2 separate regions of the Homo sapiens genome follow, and region 1 is linked to region 2. Evidence: promoter capture Hi-C in human tissues and cell types (Jung and others, 2019). All regions are on one chromosome and are shown on one strand. The core of a region is centred on a gene start or on the middle of the fragment in contact, and the rest is flanking DNA. Distances in the headings are between cores, read along the strand shown.

What was found. The method cuts DNA at HindIII sites, captures the fragments that hold promoters and counts their contacts. A contact is called where the count stands out against the background at its distance.
Region 1: a contact is called between a fragment that was not itself captured here and the fragment with the promoter of GNG4 in region 2, in 1 of the 25 tissues and cell types used here (IMR-90 fibroblasts).

What each region holds. Positions count from the first base shown.
Region 1 is chr1:235,686,774-235,693,658 of GRCh38, reverse strand. LYST (lysosomal trafficking regulator) reads left to right here. Exons shown (of 53, transcript NM_000081.4): 47 at 173-309; 48 at 6,612-6,710. Among named protein-coding and RNA genes, the nearest start is that of GNG4, 40 kb to the right of the region's middle. The HindIII fragment of the contact is 3,890 bases long and covers 3,691-6,885 here.
Region 2 is chr1:235,646,032-235,652,975 of GRCh38, reverse strand. It overlaps GNG4 (G protein subunit gamma 4), which reads left to right and starts at 3,192. Exons shown (of 4, transcript NM_001098722.2): 1 at 3,192-3,314. RefSeq lists enhancers at 1,376-2,227, 4,693-4,987 and a silencer at 3,218-3,327. The HindIII fragment of the contact is 19,046 bases long and covers 1-6,944 here.

The DNA of each region.
Region 1 (6,885 bases), core at 4,386-6,885, 38 kb before region 2:
CATTAAAGGAATAAAACTAAAAAATTGTTCCATTTTAGAGATTTAAAGATGGTCTTGCACCAAATGATATGTTCTGCTATGTAAACTTCACCCTTTAATCTGCCAGTTTTGGGCTGTCATGTAACAGTCGAGCAGTGACAATCTGATACTTTTCTTTCTCCTTCTCCTTGAGGTGTGAGAAGCATGAACAGTACGGACATTCAGTGGTCAGCCATCCTGAGCTGGGGATATGCTGATAATATTTTAAGGTTGAAGAGTAAACAAAGTGAGCCTCCAGTAAACTTTATTCAAAGTTCACAACAGTACCAGGTAAACACTTTATTTTATTTTATTTATTTATTTTTAAGACGGAGTCTCACTCTGCCGCCCAAGCTGGAGCGCAGTGACACATCTTGGCTCACTGCAAGCTCCACCTCCCGGCTCACGCCATTCTCCTGCCTCAGCCTCCCAAGTAGCTGGGACTACAGGCACCTGCCACCACGCCCAGCTGACTTTTTGTATTCTTTTAGTAGAGACGGGATTTCATCGTGTTAGCAAGGATGGTCTCGATCTCCTGACCTTGTTATCTGCCCGCCTTGGCCTCCCAAAGTGCTGGGATTACAGGTGTGAGCCACCACACCTGGCCAACTTTTTTTTTAATTTTAGAGTGTCGCTCTGTTGCCCAGGCTGGAGTGCAAAAGCACACTCTCAGCTAACTGCACCCTCCACCTCCCAGACTCAAGTGATCCTCCTCCCTCAGCTTCCCAAGTAGCTGGGACTACAGGTGCGTGCCACCATGCCTGGATAATTTTTATATTATCTGTGGAGATAGGGTTTCTCCATGTTGCCCAGGCTGGCCTCAAACTCCTGGACTCAAATGATTCACCCGCCTTGGCCTCCCAGAGTGCTGGGATTACAGTGAGCCACTGTGTCTGGCCCATGTAAACGTTTTTGTGGTATCTTTATAATGGTTAATGCATAAAAATGAGTCAGACTGGCTGGGCACAGTGGCTCATGCCTGTAATCCCAGCACTTTGGGAGGCTGAGGCGGGCAGATCGCCTGAGGTCAGGAGTTCAAGACCAGCCTGGCCAACACGGGGAAAACCCATCTCTACTAAAAATACAAAAAAAATTAGCCAGGCATGGTGGCACATTCCTGTAATTCCAGCTACTCAGGAGGCTGAGGCAGGAGAATCGCTTGAACCCAGGAGGCAGAGGTTGCAGTGAGCCAAGATCACGCCATTGCATTCCAGCCTGGGTGACAAGAGCGAGACTCCATCTTAAAAAAAAAAGAGTCAGACTGATAGCAGCTAGGTTGGTTGGTTGGTTGGTTGGTTGGTTTGTTATGAGATGAAGTCTCGCTCCATCGCCCAGGCTGGAGTACAGTGGTGTGATCTGTGCCCACTGCAACCTCCGCCTCCCGGATTCAAGCAATTCTCCTGCCTCAGCTTCCGAAGTAGCTGGGACTACAGGCATGTGCCACCACACTTGGCTAATTTTTGTATTTTTAGTAGGGACGGGGTTTCACCATGTTAGCCAGGTTGGTCTCGAACTCCTGACCTCAGGTGATTCTCCCGCCTCAGCCTCCCAAAGTGCTGGGATTACATGCGTGAGCCACTGTGCCCAGCCAAGCAGCCAGTTTTTAATATCCTGCAATTTGTCCAGTCAAGAATCTGATGTTAGGCTGGGCATGGTGGCTCACGCCTGTAATCCTAGCACTTTGGGAGGCCAAGGTGCGGGGATCACCTGAGGTCAGGAGTTCGAGACCAGCCTGGCCAACATGGTGAAACCCTGCCTCTATGAAAAATGCAAAAATTAGCCACGCATGGTGGTGGGCACCTGTAAATCCCAGCTACTCGGGAGGCTGAGGCAGGAGAATCACTTGAACCTGGGAGGCAGAGGTTGCAGTGAGCTGAGATCGTGCCATTGCGCTCCAGCATCAGCAACCAGAGCAAAACTCCATCTCAAAAAAAAAAAAAAGAGAGAATCTGATGTTTATAGTACTTACAGACTTCCTAACTACCACTATTTGTGTCCCCCAAATTTGTTTTCTACCCATTTTCTCATTGAGAGAATATTATCAAAATCTCCTGCTCAACATCAGTGAAGGGCATAGTGTTTGAACCAAATCAGCATTGCCTTCTTCTCAGTGTTCACTCACCTTTGTCATTAGGTCATTTTCTGTAACCATAGTGCCATCTTTTATACCTGATTTTTCCTAAATGGACTGGTTATTCAGACATCATGTATAGTAGAAAGAACATTGGGCCTAAAGCCCTGTGATCTTTGTTAGTGTCCCAGCTTCGTTATATACTAACTGCAGCCTTTGACTAGTAACTTAATCTCTCCAAACTTGAGTTTCTTTCCTCCTCATTACAACCAAGATAATAGTACTCACACTTCTTTCTCAGAAAGCTGCTGTAAAATGTTTCCAGTGTTTGTGAAAGAAACTTGTAAACTGTAGCCAGGCGCGGTGGCTCAAGCCTGTTATCCCAGCGCTTTGGGAGGCCGAGGCGGGCGGATCACAAGGTCAGGAGATCGAGACCATCCTGGCTAACACAGTGAAACCCCGTCTCTACTAAAAATACAAAAAAAATTAGCTGGGCGTGGTGGCGGGCGCCTGTAGTCCCAGCTACTCGGGAGGCTGAGGCAGGAGAATGGCGTGAACCCGGGAGGCGGAGCTTGCAGTGAGCCAAGATTGCACCACTGCACTCCAGCCTGGGCAACAGAACGAGACTCTGTCTCAAGGGAAAAAAAAAAAAAAGAAACTTGTAAACTGTAAAATACCATGTAAATATACAGTATGCTGCTGCAACCGTTCCAGACTGTAAATCGTATGGACAGCCTTCTTTTTTGACTCTCTTTCCATGGGAAGTTCTCTTACCATTCATCCTCTGATTTCCATTACCTGCATAACACCTGCTGCCTTATCATGTGTCCTAAAATGTATCCCATTCCCTGAGCTCTTTAGAAATGGAGGAAGCTACTTAGGGGAATGTTTAGCAGTGAAAGCAAGAGGAGCAGTGCCTTGTTTGCATAACCCTCAATATCCCTGACCAAAATATTGCCACCATTTGTTATATAGCTTACCAGGAAACTGACAGAAGTAAGAATAAAGAGACAGTGAAAAACAACTTTACTAGGAACTTTAATAAGATTTTTTTTTTAGTTTTGAAACATCAGGCTGCATTAACCAGAGCCTTTGTATGCAGATAGAAATATATATATCCAAACACAAACAAGTTATAACCATAAATCATGGCAAAGCTTGTAGTATAACTAAATTGGAAATGAGTCTACAAAATAAATGAAAACACAAAAACATATTATAGAATCAGTATGTCCCTTACTGCACCCTTTTTGGGATTATTATAAATTGGGAAAAACAGACAAATATGTACAGTGGGAGTTAGATATACAATACATTCTACCTGTCAAAATACACTGACACAAATTTATGAGCAGATTTAACTCATTGCTGTCATCAGTAATCTGTATTTACAAACATCTTGACTTTCCAATGAAAAGTGAAGAAAAATGAAATCATCATCAGTATTAATTGAATGTTTTCAACGCAATGTTAAAGATATAACATAAGCTTTCAATCAAATTCTTTACACCTTTAATTACTAGGCATTCCTTCTATTTAAGAGTTGGGTACTGTTACATTAGATTGATGTGGTGTGAAGAGAGGACAAAGATGAACAAATAACTTTAAAGATGCTTTCCGATTCACTAATTTATTTTCACCAGTACAAAGACAAGCATTTAGTCAAATTGTTTTTGCCAAGTAAATTGACTTGTTAGTTTAGCAGATCCAAAGCTTGAATAAAGTTGTTTAAAATTCTTATTTTTATTTTTTTCTAGCTTTATTGGGATAAAATTGACAAATAAAATTGTATATATTTAAGGTATACAATGTGATGTTTTAATACATGTATATATACATTGTGAAATGATTACTACAGTCAGGCTAATTAACACATTCGTCACCTCACATAGTTAGCATTTTTTACGTGTGTGATGAGAATATTTAAGATCTACTATCTTAGCAAATTTCAAGAATACAACACAGTATTATTAACAGTAGTCACCATCCTCTACGTTAGATCTCCAGAACGTAATCATCCTGCACAACTGAAACCTGTACCCTTTGACCACCATCTCTCCATTCCACACACATTACCAGCACTCTCAGCCCCTGGCTACTGCTACTCTACTCTCTGTAGTTCAGCTTTTTTTAGATTCCACATAGGAGCAGGATCATACAGTATTTGTCTTTCTGTGCCTGGCAGATTTTACTTAATACAGTGTCCCCCAGGGTCATTTGTGTTATCACAAATAACAGGATTTCCATCTTTTTAAAGGCTGAATAATATTTCATGTATATAAAAGAATTTAAACATTGCAAAATTATTTGTATCATAATAGATGAAAATAAAGATGAAAGAACACTATCACAAGTCCTGTTAGCAAAACAAGATGTGATGACATTGTGTGATACTTTGAGTCAAATGACTAAACTGGATGAGAATACTATATTGCATTTTCATCTAGAGATACATTTCTAAAGATATATTTTTGTTCACCCATTAATTCTTTGATTTGAGAAAATTCAGCTAGGATATTATTGTTGTTGTTGTTGTTGTTGTTATTATTATTATTATTATTATTATTATTATTATTATTATTATTTGAGACGGAGTCTCACTCTGTTGCCAGGCTGGAGTGCAGTGGTGCGATCTCGGCTCACTGCAACCTCCCCCTCCTGGGTTCAAGCGATTCTCCTGCCTCACCGTCCCTAGTACCTGGGACTACAGGTGCGTGCCACCACACCCAGCTAATTTTTTTGTATGTTTAGTAGAGACGGGGTTTCACCATGTTAGCCAGGATGGTCTCGATCTCCTGACCTCATGATCCGCCCGCCTCGGCCTCCCAAAGTGCTGGGTTACAGGCATGAGCCACTGTGCCCAGCCAGGATTTTGTTATATAAAGACTCACGCTCTGAGATTTCACTTATATGATCAATTTCATCATCATCAGTAGAGTCTAGAGTCCTGACGGCTGTGTGCCTTCATGTTGTGATTAGTCTCATAATTGTGAAACATCTTCCTCTGTCAGCTTTCTTGGTAGAAAATGAAAAATTCTGAATTCTCCACCGTGTTCAATGAAAGCCAAAAGTAGACTACAGAAGTGGTGTCTCCAGCCTTCTTTTATACTTTCCTGAAAGATGACACTATACTTTGGACAATGCAATAAGAAAACCAAAAGATGACGATTTAGTTCACATATTAGATTATCCTCTTGGGAGATTCCATCATTCTCCCATTTCCTTGCTTGTTTGTTTGTTTTTTGCGTATTTAGGAATAATTGATGAGTAGTGATGAAATAATTTTTAGAATGATGAAATCGCTAAATGTTTCAGGATATAGAAAAACAAGTTAGTTATTAAGATCTTGTAATGTAACTTAGGTTGATTCACTGGATCCATGTGGTAATTCCAAGACAGAATGAGTTTTATTCTGTGTATTTTTTAAAAGTGCATTTTCTCTTTGTTCTTTGGAAGACCTCCAAGAAAGAATAAAATTTATGAAGTATCAATCCTAACAAATAGAACTACTCAAGAAAGAAACTGAAAACATAAAATTGGATCCAATGGATCCTTATGGTATAACGGGAGTTAAGAAGAATAAAGATCAGAGAAAGTCATTTTCTAAGGTAGCAGAGACGTGAACACACTTGTAGTGCAAGGGGGGAAGCCAGCAAGAGACAGCTTGAAACTGTAAGAAAAAGAAAACAAGGTTTCTGAGGAAGCCTGAGGATGAGGCAAGGCTGACCTTGAAAGCAGACATTTCTTTCTCTGAATCAGAAGACAGGGAAACATGTTGAGGTGCAGAGGAGAGGAGAGGAAGAGGTGTGCAGCTGGGGGTCTCCATCTGCTTAGTGAAGTGAGTGTGGGGGAGGTGGGACAGGAGAGCAGTTGGGGACAGTTGCTGCGGACATGGTGCTCAGGGTGGGGGTCAGCTAGCATGGAAAAGAGGACCTGTCAGGCCACATAGAAAATTGACTCAAACCTGAGTGGTGCCTCCATGGTTAGGACTGAGGGATTTTGTACCAAAGGCATAATCCCATCTTTTACATTCACATTTATCTTCTTTCTTCCCCTGCTTAACAATCTTTAGAACTATTAGAAGCAATACCTCTGTTTACATGTACCTGTTTCCCCACCAAAGACATAAAACGAGGAAAATAAAAGCAAAAAGCAAATAAATATGTGAAGTACACATACATTCACACTCAACCTTGGATTTAATCAATCCTGAATCATTTTGTTAAATTTATCTAAATATATATACACATATATCCACACACAGGCACGTATAGACATAGACTATGCATTATAATATATTTTAATTTGGAAACAACATTTAGACATTTGGCTCAAAGTTACGGAATATTACTATATCTGACACGTTTCTGTTTCAAGAAATGTTTACCTAACATTTTTGAGAGTTAAAAAAAATAGTTGTCAGAAAAGTAGAAGTATTTTTCATTCTTTTATTTTATTTTTATTATACTTTAAGTTTCATTCTTTTAAAACATGATAATCTTTGATTGGTCCTTTTTCAAAGGTGACTAGTTGTGCTTGGGTGCCTGACAGTTGCCAGCTGTTTACTGGAAGCAAATGCGGTGTCATCACAGCCTACACAAACAGATTTACAAGCAGCACGGTAGGTTCTGGGCTTCTGTGTGGGTAGTATGGGACTTTGTCAATGAGGGGAAGAAAGCCTTTATGAAGTATAATTCACTTTGCATAAGATTAACTTAAAATGTTTATACCTTAATCTTCTCCCTACATTAGGTCTTAAAATGCTTTAGGGTTTATTAGAATCATGAAAAATCTTG
Region 2 (6,944 bases), core at 1,943-4,442:
GAATACTAAAGTATACTCAGGCAGGAAAAAAGGAATGAAGAATAGGACAAACAGAAAACAAATAGCAAGTTGGTAGTTTTAAACCCAACCACATGATAATTACATAAGAAGTAAATGAACTAAACATTCCAATTAAAAGTAGAGATGGGGTTTCACCATGTTGACCAGGATAGTCTCGATCTCTTGACCTCATGATCCTCCCGCCTCGACCTCCCAAGGTTTTCCTTCTTTATCCCTAGTCATATTCTTTGTTCTGAAGTCTTCTTTGTTTTTATCTATATAACCACTGCGGATTTTTTACTATTAGTTGTCAAGCTGACAGATCGTCAAGCTGAATTTTAAAAGCAGATCCAGCTCTGTGCTGCCTACGAAGATGGAGAATCCCACTTTTAAGAACAAAGATACAGGCCGGGCGTGGTGACTCACGACTGTAATCGCAGCACTTTGGGAGGCCGAGGTGGGAGGATCACCCGAGGTCAGGAGTCTGAGACCAGCCTGGACAACAAGTTGAAATCCGGTCTCTACTAAAAAGGCAAAAATTAGCTGGGTGTGGTGGTGGACGCCTGTAATCCCAGCTGCTCAGGAGGCTGAGGCAGGAGAATCACTTGAACCTGGGAGGCGGAGGTTGCAGTAAGCTGAGATGGCACCATTGCACTCCAGCCTGGGCGACAAGAGCGAGAGTCTGTCTCAAAAAAAAAAAAAAAAAAAAAAGATACAGATAGATTTAAAAATTAAAAGGATATAAACACATATCATGCAAACACTAATAGTAAGAAATCTGCAGTGGTTATATAGATATAAACAAAGAAGACTTCAGAACAAAGGATATGACTAGGAATAAAGAAGAAAAACCTTGGGAGGCCGAGGAGGGCAGCTCATGAGGTCAAGAGATCGAGACTATCCTGGCCAACACGGTGAAACCCCATCTCTACCAAAAATACAAAAATTAGCTGGGCATGGTGGCGTACGCCTGTAGTCCCAGCTACTCTGGAGGCTGAGGCAGGAGAATCGCTTGAACCCAGGAGGAGGAGGTTGTAGTGAGCCGAGATCGCGCCACTGCACTCCAGCCTGGGCGACAGAGCGAGACTCCCTCCCACTCCGCAAAAAAAATAAATAAATAAGAAGAAAGAAAACTGATACCCAGGGTCCTGGTGCCAGACTTTACACTACTGCAGCTATCCTGGGTGATGTCCAGAGATGAACGGAATCAGAATTACCTGGAGGGTTTGGGGAATCACAGGTTGCTGGGCCCCACCCCCAGAGTTTCTGATTCCTTAGGTCTGGGTGGGGCCTGGGAGTCTGCATCTCTAAAAGATTCCCAGGTGACACGCTGATTCTACTGGTCTTGGGATCCACTCTGGAACCACTTGTTGACTGACCTCTTCCTCCTGTTTAAAACTGACATGATCCTATCTTGAATGATAGTGTAACAATTAGAAAGATAAAATAAGGAAATGATGCGCTTGAAAGTGTAGACACTGATTTCCCTTGTGATTGATTAATTGAGATTGGGATTTGGGATAAAAGGAAACCTAGGATTCTGCCTTAGCCAACCAGTCGGGGGCGGGAGGTGGGCAGGAAATGCAGGAGAAATAAGATTTTGGGGTGAAAACAATGAGCTAGGGTTTGGATTTGCTTGAATTTTCAATGCAGTACTCATATATCTTTCTCACTTTTAAAAGTCTGTGAGGTGGACATGGACTGGCTTCGTCGGTTTGCCAAGGTTTAATTTTGTGCCTTAAATGGGCACTTGAGAGCTTTGTAAAAACCGATGTGTTTGCTGGCCCCGTGTTTACGGGCCTTTGTGATCTCCGCGTTCGCATCCAATCTGGCCCTTGGGCTCCGAGAAGGTACACGTGTGTGTAGGGCAAGGTCCAACCAGTGGGGCCAGGGATCTGAGCAACAAGCGCGCCCTGTGTCCTTTGTGGCAGGGACCGCTTGTGGACGGCGGATGAGGATGAGGCGCCCAGATCTTCCCGAAATATTTCCTAATCGTTCATCATGATGTTATGTTGTTGTTTTCACAAAGGGAATTAATATTGGCCTCCTTTTCTACAAATCTTGCCAACACTGCGTGAAATGTTTTCGTTGCTTCTCTATTCCCAAGGTTTCGTATTATTTTACCAAGTCGGAAAATGGACGGCGCTTAAACTGTTTTTTCCCTGAAAGGAAGAGGGCTGTAATCACTAAAGTGTTTTAAAATCTCCAGCGCAAAAGCCTGCGGTGCCACAGGGACGAGGCCTGGAGAGCAGTCGCTCCTAGAACCGGGGCGCGAAGGGCACCCCCGCCTCCAGCACGCGCCCTCCGCCCTCCCGGCCTCGCTCCCCCCGGAGTGGGGGCCTCGCCGGCCCCTGGTCCCCGTCACTCAGCAACGTCGGGTCAGCCTTCGCCGGGTTAGTGGCGACGCGGCCGCGCGAATTCGCACAGGTATTCCGCGTTTCTCCGCCGTTCCCCGCCTTGGCCGGAGGCTTCCGAGGCGTCCCTTGGTGCAGGGTGGGAAGCGGCCCGCGCCCCAACGGCCCAGGCGCTGGAGCTCACCCCGAGCGAGGGCGGTACCTGAGGCTTCGGGGAGCCCGCGCTGACCGCGGCCCCGTCCCCAGACCCCTCCAGCAACCCCGGCCCCGCCCCAGACCCCTCCGGTGATTTCCCCCCCGGCCCCGCCCCGCAGATCCCTCCAGTGATCTCCCCCCCGCCGCGCCCCCCAGACCCCCCCCCAGTGATTTACCCCCCGGCCCCGCCCCACAGACCCCTCCAGTGGTCCCCCGGCCACGCGGGCTCCGGGGGGGCGGGGCGGGGGCGCGGCCCTTTGCTGGGACAGGGGGCGTGGGCCCGAGTAGCGGGCGGGGGGCGCGGGCCCGGGCTGGGGCGGGGGCGGGGGCGGGGAGCGCGGGAGCCCCGGTGACGCAGCAGTGACGTCGGTGGCAGCGGGCGGGATTTCCCGGGCGAGACCCCGCGGCGGAGTGGGCGCGGCCAGCGTGGAACGGGGGCGAGGGTCGCAGAGTCGCCGGCTCTCCCTTCCCCAGTCTGGGCCCCCACGGCACAGGGGGCCGAGCAGAAGCCCCCAGCGTCCAGGGCCGGGGGAGGGTCCGCCTGCGCCCCCAGGCCCGCGTGGTCGGGCCCTGCAGGGCGGGAGGCGCGGCGCGGGGCGGGGCCGGTGACGGGACGCGGAGACCCCGCGGGCGGCGGGAGGGGCACGAGGCGCGCGTTTGCACCCGAGCCCGGCCCGCGCCCCGATGCGGAGCGATGCCGCTCGGCCTGGCCGCCCCCCGCGAGCACCGCGCTGCAGACGAAGCCCGCGCGTGATCCCGCTCCGGGTAAGTGGGCGCCCGGCCGGAGCCCCGGGTGTCCGCGGGGAGAGCCCAGCCCGGTGCAGCCAGACGCGGAAGGGAAACTCGGGGTGAAAGTCTCCGGACCTAGGGAGACGGCTCTGGCGCCGGTGTGGTCCTCACGCCGCCAGCTGCTGCTGCACGCGACACAAAGACCTGTGGTTCCCTCGGCCTCCTCTCCCGGGACCTCCCGCCGGGCCCCGGGGAAGCCCGCGCGCGGGTGTGGACAGCCCCCTCGGAGCGCGTCCAGGGGCTTCCGGGGCTGGGGGCGCCCGGTCCCTCCGGCATGAGGCAGGCGGGGGCTCGGGGGTCCCCTCTTCCATTTGTAGGTCACAGAGCGTTTGCTGTTTTCCCAGCGGGGACGTCCCCCGTGGAAAAGGACCTCAGTGGCAGGAGATGGCGTGGCTGGTTGGGCGTTTTCTTTGGGGAAATGTTTCTGGCGAGTGCCTGAGGAAGCCCTCCTGGCTCCCCAGCAGCCCAGACGCCGCCTCGGGAGCACTCGGGGTGACGCTGGAGCCACCGCAGCTGAGGGTGGTTTTCCTCACCTCCTTGATGGCGTCTGTCCCCGAGGCTGGTGCTGAACTGAAATGTGCTTCGTTCGCCGCGCGCGCCCGGCAGCAACCGGGGAGCTTTGTTTGGCTTGATTTTTTAAATTGCCTTGGAAATAACGCGAAACGGCGGGAGGGTGAAGTGGGGAGGAGGACAGAGCGTGGTGGGGAAAGACTCCTTAATTTAAGATTTGCTTCATTTCGAGTATTTGGGGCTAAGGTGTTAGGAAACCCGAAAATGTTAAAGTTTGATCAAGTAATAAAGTGGATGATGGACGCCGGGCCTCCCACCGTCTCCCCGGCCCCGCGGCTGCCGCGTCTCTCCTCTACCCGTCGCCTCCCAGGACTGTCAAATGCTGGCACCGGGCCCGTGCCTCTCAGCCGGAGCAAAAGGCCGCCTAGGCTGCGCCCGTGTGCTCCATTAAAACGTGCCAGTCCTGTCGTCTGCTCATGAGTGAGGTGTGCCGCTTCCCACAGTGGACAGGAAATTTGCAGCGGCGAATGCCTCACAGTAGCCATGGGGGACCTGGGCTCTGCGGCCGGCTTCTCGATTCCTCCCGCAACTCCTTTTCCTGATTTTTGTATGAGGCGGGGGAGGGGAACCAGCCGCCATCTGATCTGGCCCTGTTCCCTGCAAGAGGCGACTGGGGGGACAACTAAGTTGATAAATGGAAAGCCTTTTCCAGCCCGGAGAAACAGACAGAGGACCTATAAACTGGATTGTTTTTGAAATGTAGGGTTTGCTCAGTGACCGGTCATGATAAGAGATGGCTGTGGCACTTAATAAATAGTAGGTGTAAATGCAAATGCAAGGTTTACAGTGATGCCTTGCCTGTTAATGAGCAGCCTCACCATGGGGTTAGTTAGGCTGAAATGACTATTTAGGACAATGGACTTCCTGTTGGCCCCCACCTCCATGCACAACTCCAGTGCTCATAGGCCTTAAAATTCGCCCAAGGAAGCCAGTGGAGGATGTAGGCCTGGCTCAGAAACAGCACAGCTAAGGGGCCATTCCCAGCAGTCCTATGATTGGCGTTTCTCATGCAAACTGATGGTGGAGAAACCAGAAAAAAAAAAAGCTTTTCCTAGATTCACTTTACAGTTTTTAAAGCAAAAGTGACAGTCCCTGAAGTCCCCCAATATTCAGTGCATTCTTTGAAATGATAGAACATCAGGTGGGAACATCGCCTGTAATCCCAGCACTTTCAGAGGCCGAGGCAGGCAGATCACTTGAGGTCAGGAGTCCGATACCGGCCTGGCCAACGTGGTGAAACCCCGTATCTACTAAAAATGCAAAAAATTAGGCGGGCGTGGTGGTGCACGCCTGTAATCCCAGCTACTTGGGAGGCTGAGGCACGAGAATCACTTGAACCTGGGAGGCAGAGGTTGCAGTGAGCTGAGATGGTGCCACTGCACTCTGGCCTCAAAATAAATAAACAACATGAGGTGGGAACATGGACCCTGACCCCTGGGGAAGCAAGAGCCACAGCTGTCTCAGGAGGGCAGGAACACTGTAAAATGTGTACAATGCTCCTTCCCCCAAGACCTACACGCCCAAACCCACGCCTACCACAAAACTACTGCTTATGCAGAAAGCAAAGACTAAGGTCTGTACCCAACAATTTCTTCTTTTATTTATAGCTGCATCTCACTTATTTCACTATCACATTTTTCCTAGTTTGTCTCAGTTTCTGCTTGGAGAGGGGAGAATGCCTAATAATGTATGTCAGAAGATTGCCCCTTTCTTCGTGGAATTTTGAAGTAGTAACTTTAAAATATTACCTGATTTTTGTTCTTGAAACACCTTTTAAGGATATACTGCTATCTAATCTTGCTGGTTTTCCTTTTTTAAAATTTGGTATTTTTATTCATTCTAGATATACTTAGGCATAGAGACTTGTATTATTCAGGTAGAGAGATTGTTTCTTTTTTAAAACCAGAAACCAAAATTTAACTCCTTTAATAGAGGTATAAGTACTACATAAATAACCTATCAACAGTGGATAGCAAGGATATTTTAATTGAAAGTCAGAAAAGCTAAATGGTATCAGGAAAGAAAAGGAGATTGCAGGGTAATACTACCGAAAGACTGAAAGAAGCTGGTTAAAAACCTCTAAAGAATAAGCCAAAGACTGTTAATAAATGATCAAAAGTAAAAACACAAATGAAATTTTCATTTTAGGAAATGTTAAGAAATAGGGGCTAGAAAAGCTGCTGAAAGAAAAAAATTACTGCAGAGAAAACAATGGGTGCTTAAAAAGAGATCAGTTCAGTGAGCTTGCTGGAGCGTTCCAAATTCCTCTAATTGCCAAGGAGTTCTTGTTAGACTGAATGGTGGCTGGTGGGCAATCAGATTCCCTGCTGGAAATTGGTAGACAGAGTGACAGGTGCCATGCAGATAAGGGAAAGCCGGCTGTGTGCAAGACGCCGTGCTCACTGGGGAAGGAGCCCTGGGTGCCCAGGAGTGAGGAAGTATAGGGAGCTATGGAGGAACTGTTCGTCTCCATGGCCGTGAGGTTTGTGGGTCACCAAAGGCCCAGTCTCCGAGGATCGGATAGGGCTAGGAGCCCAGGTTAGTGGGCAACAAGGGGAAAGAAGGGCAATGATTGGGCTAGACGTGTCATGTGGATGATCTCCTTTGATACTCACAGGATACCTGCCAAGTTTCTAATTTGCAAAAAACAGCAGTGACTGCTTGTGTCCTCTCTGTCCAGGAGTGTTCTGGCAGCGGGTTTGGTGGGTGGTGGGAACCTTTTTTAACTGATGTAGGAAAAGTATACACAAATGACAAGTGAAAGTGACAGAGACGTGTGGAAGAGAAAAAAGTGGAGAACTGTAGAGAGACCCACACTCAGGCACTGCACATGAGCTCCTTTCCCAGGAGGATTTGTTTCTCTTGCTTCTTAGATTTCTAAAACCATTTCTCTCTGAGTTGCTGGGTTGGCTTTCTGTGGTGTGACACATGTGCTCTGAGGCCATGGAAGGCCCTAGAGATAGAAGAAGCACTCTAAGTATCCCTCTGGGCCAGAGAGATTGTTTCTTCCCCAACACCCCCTGTGCATGAGGCGGG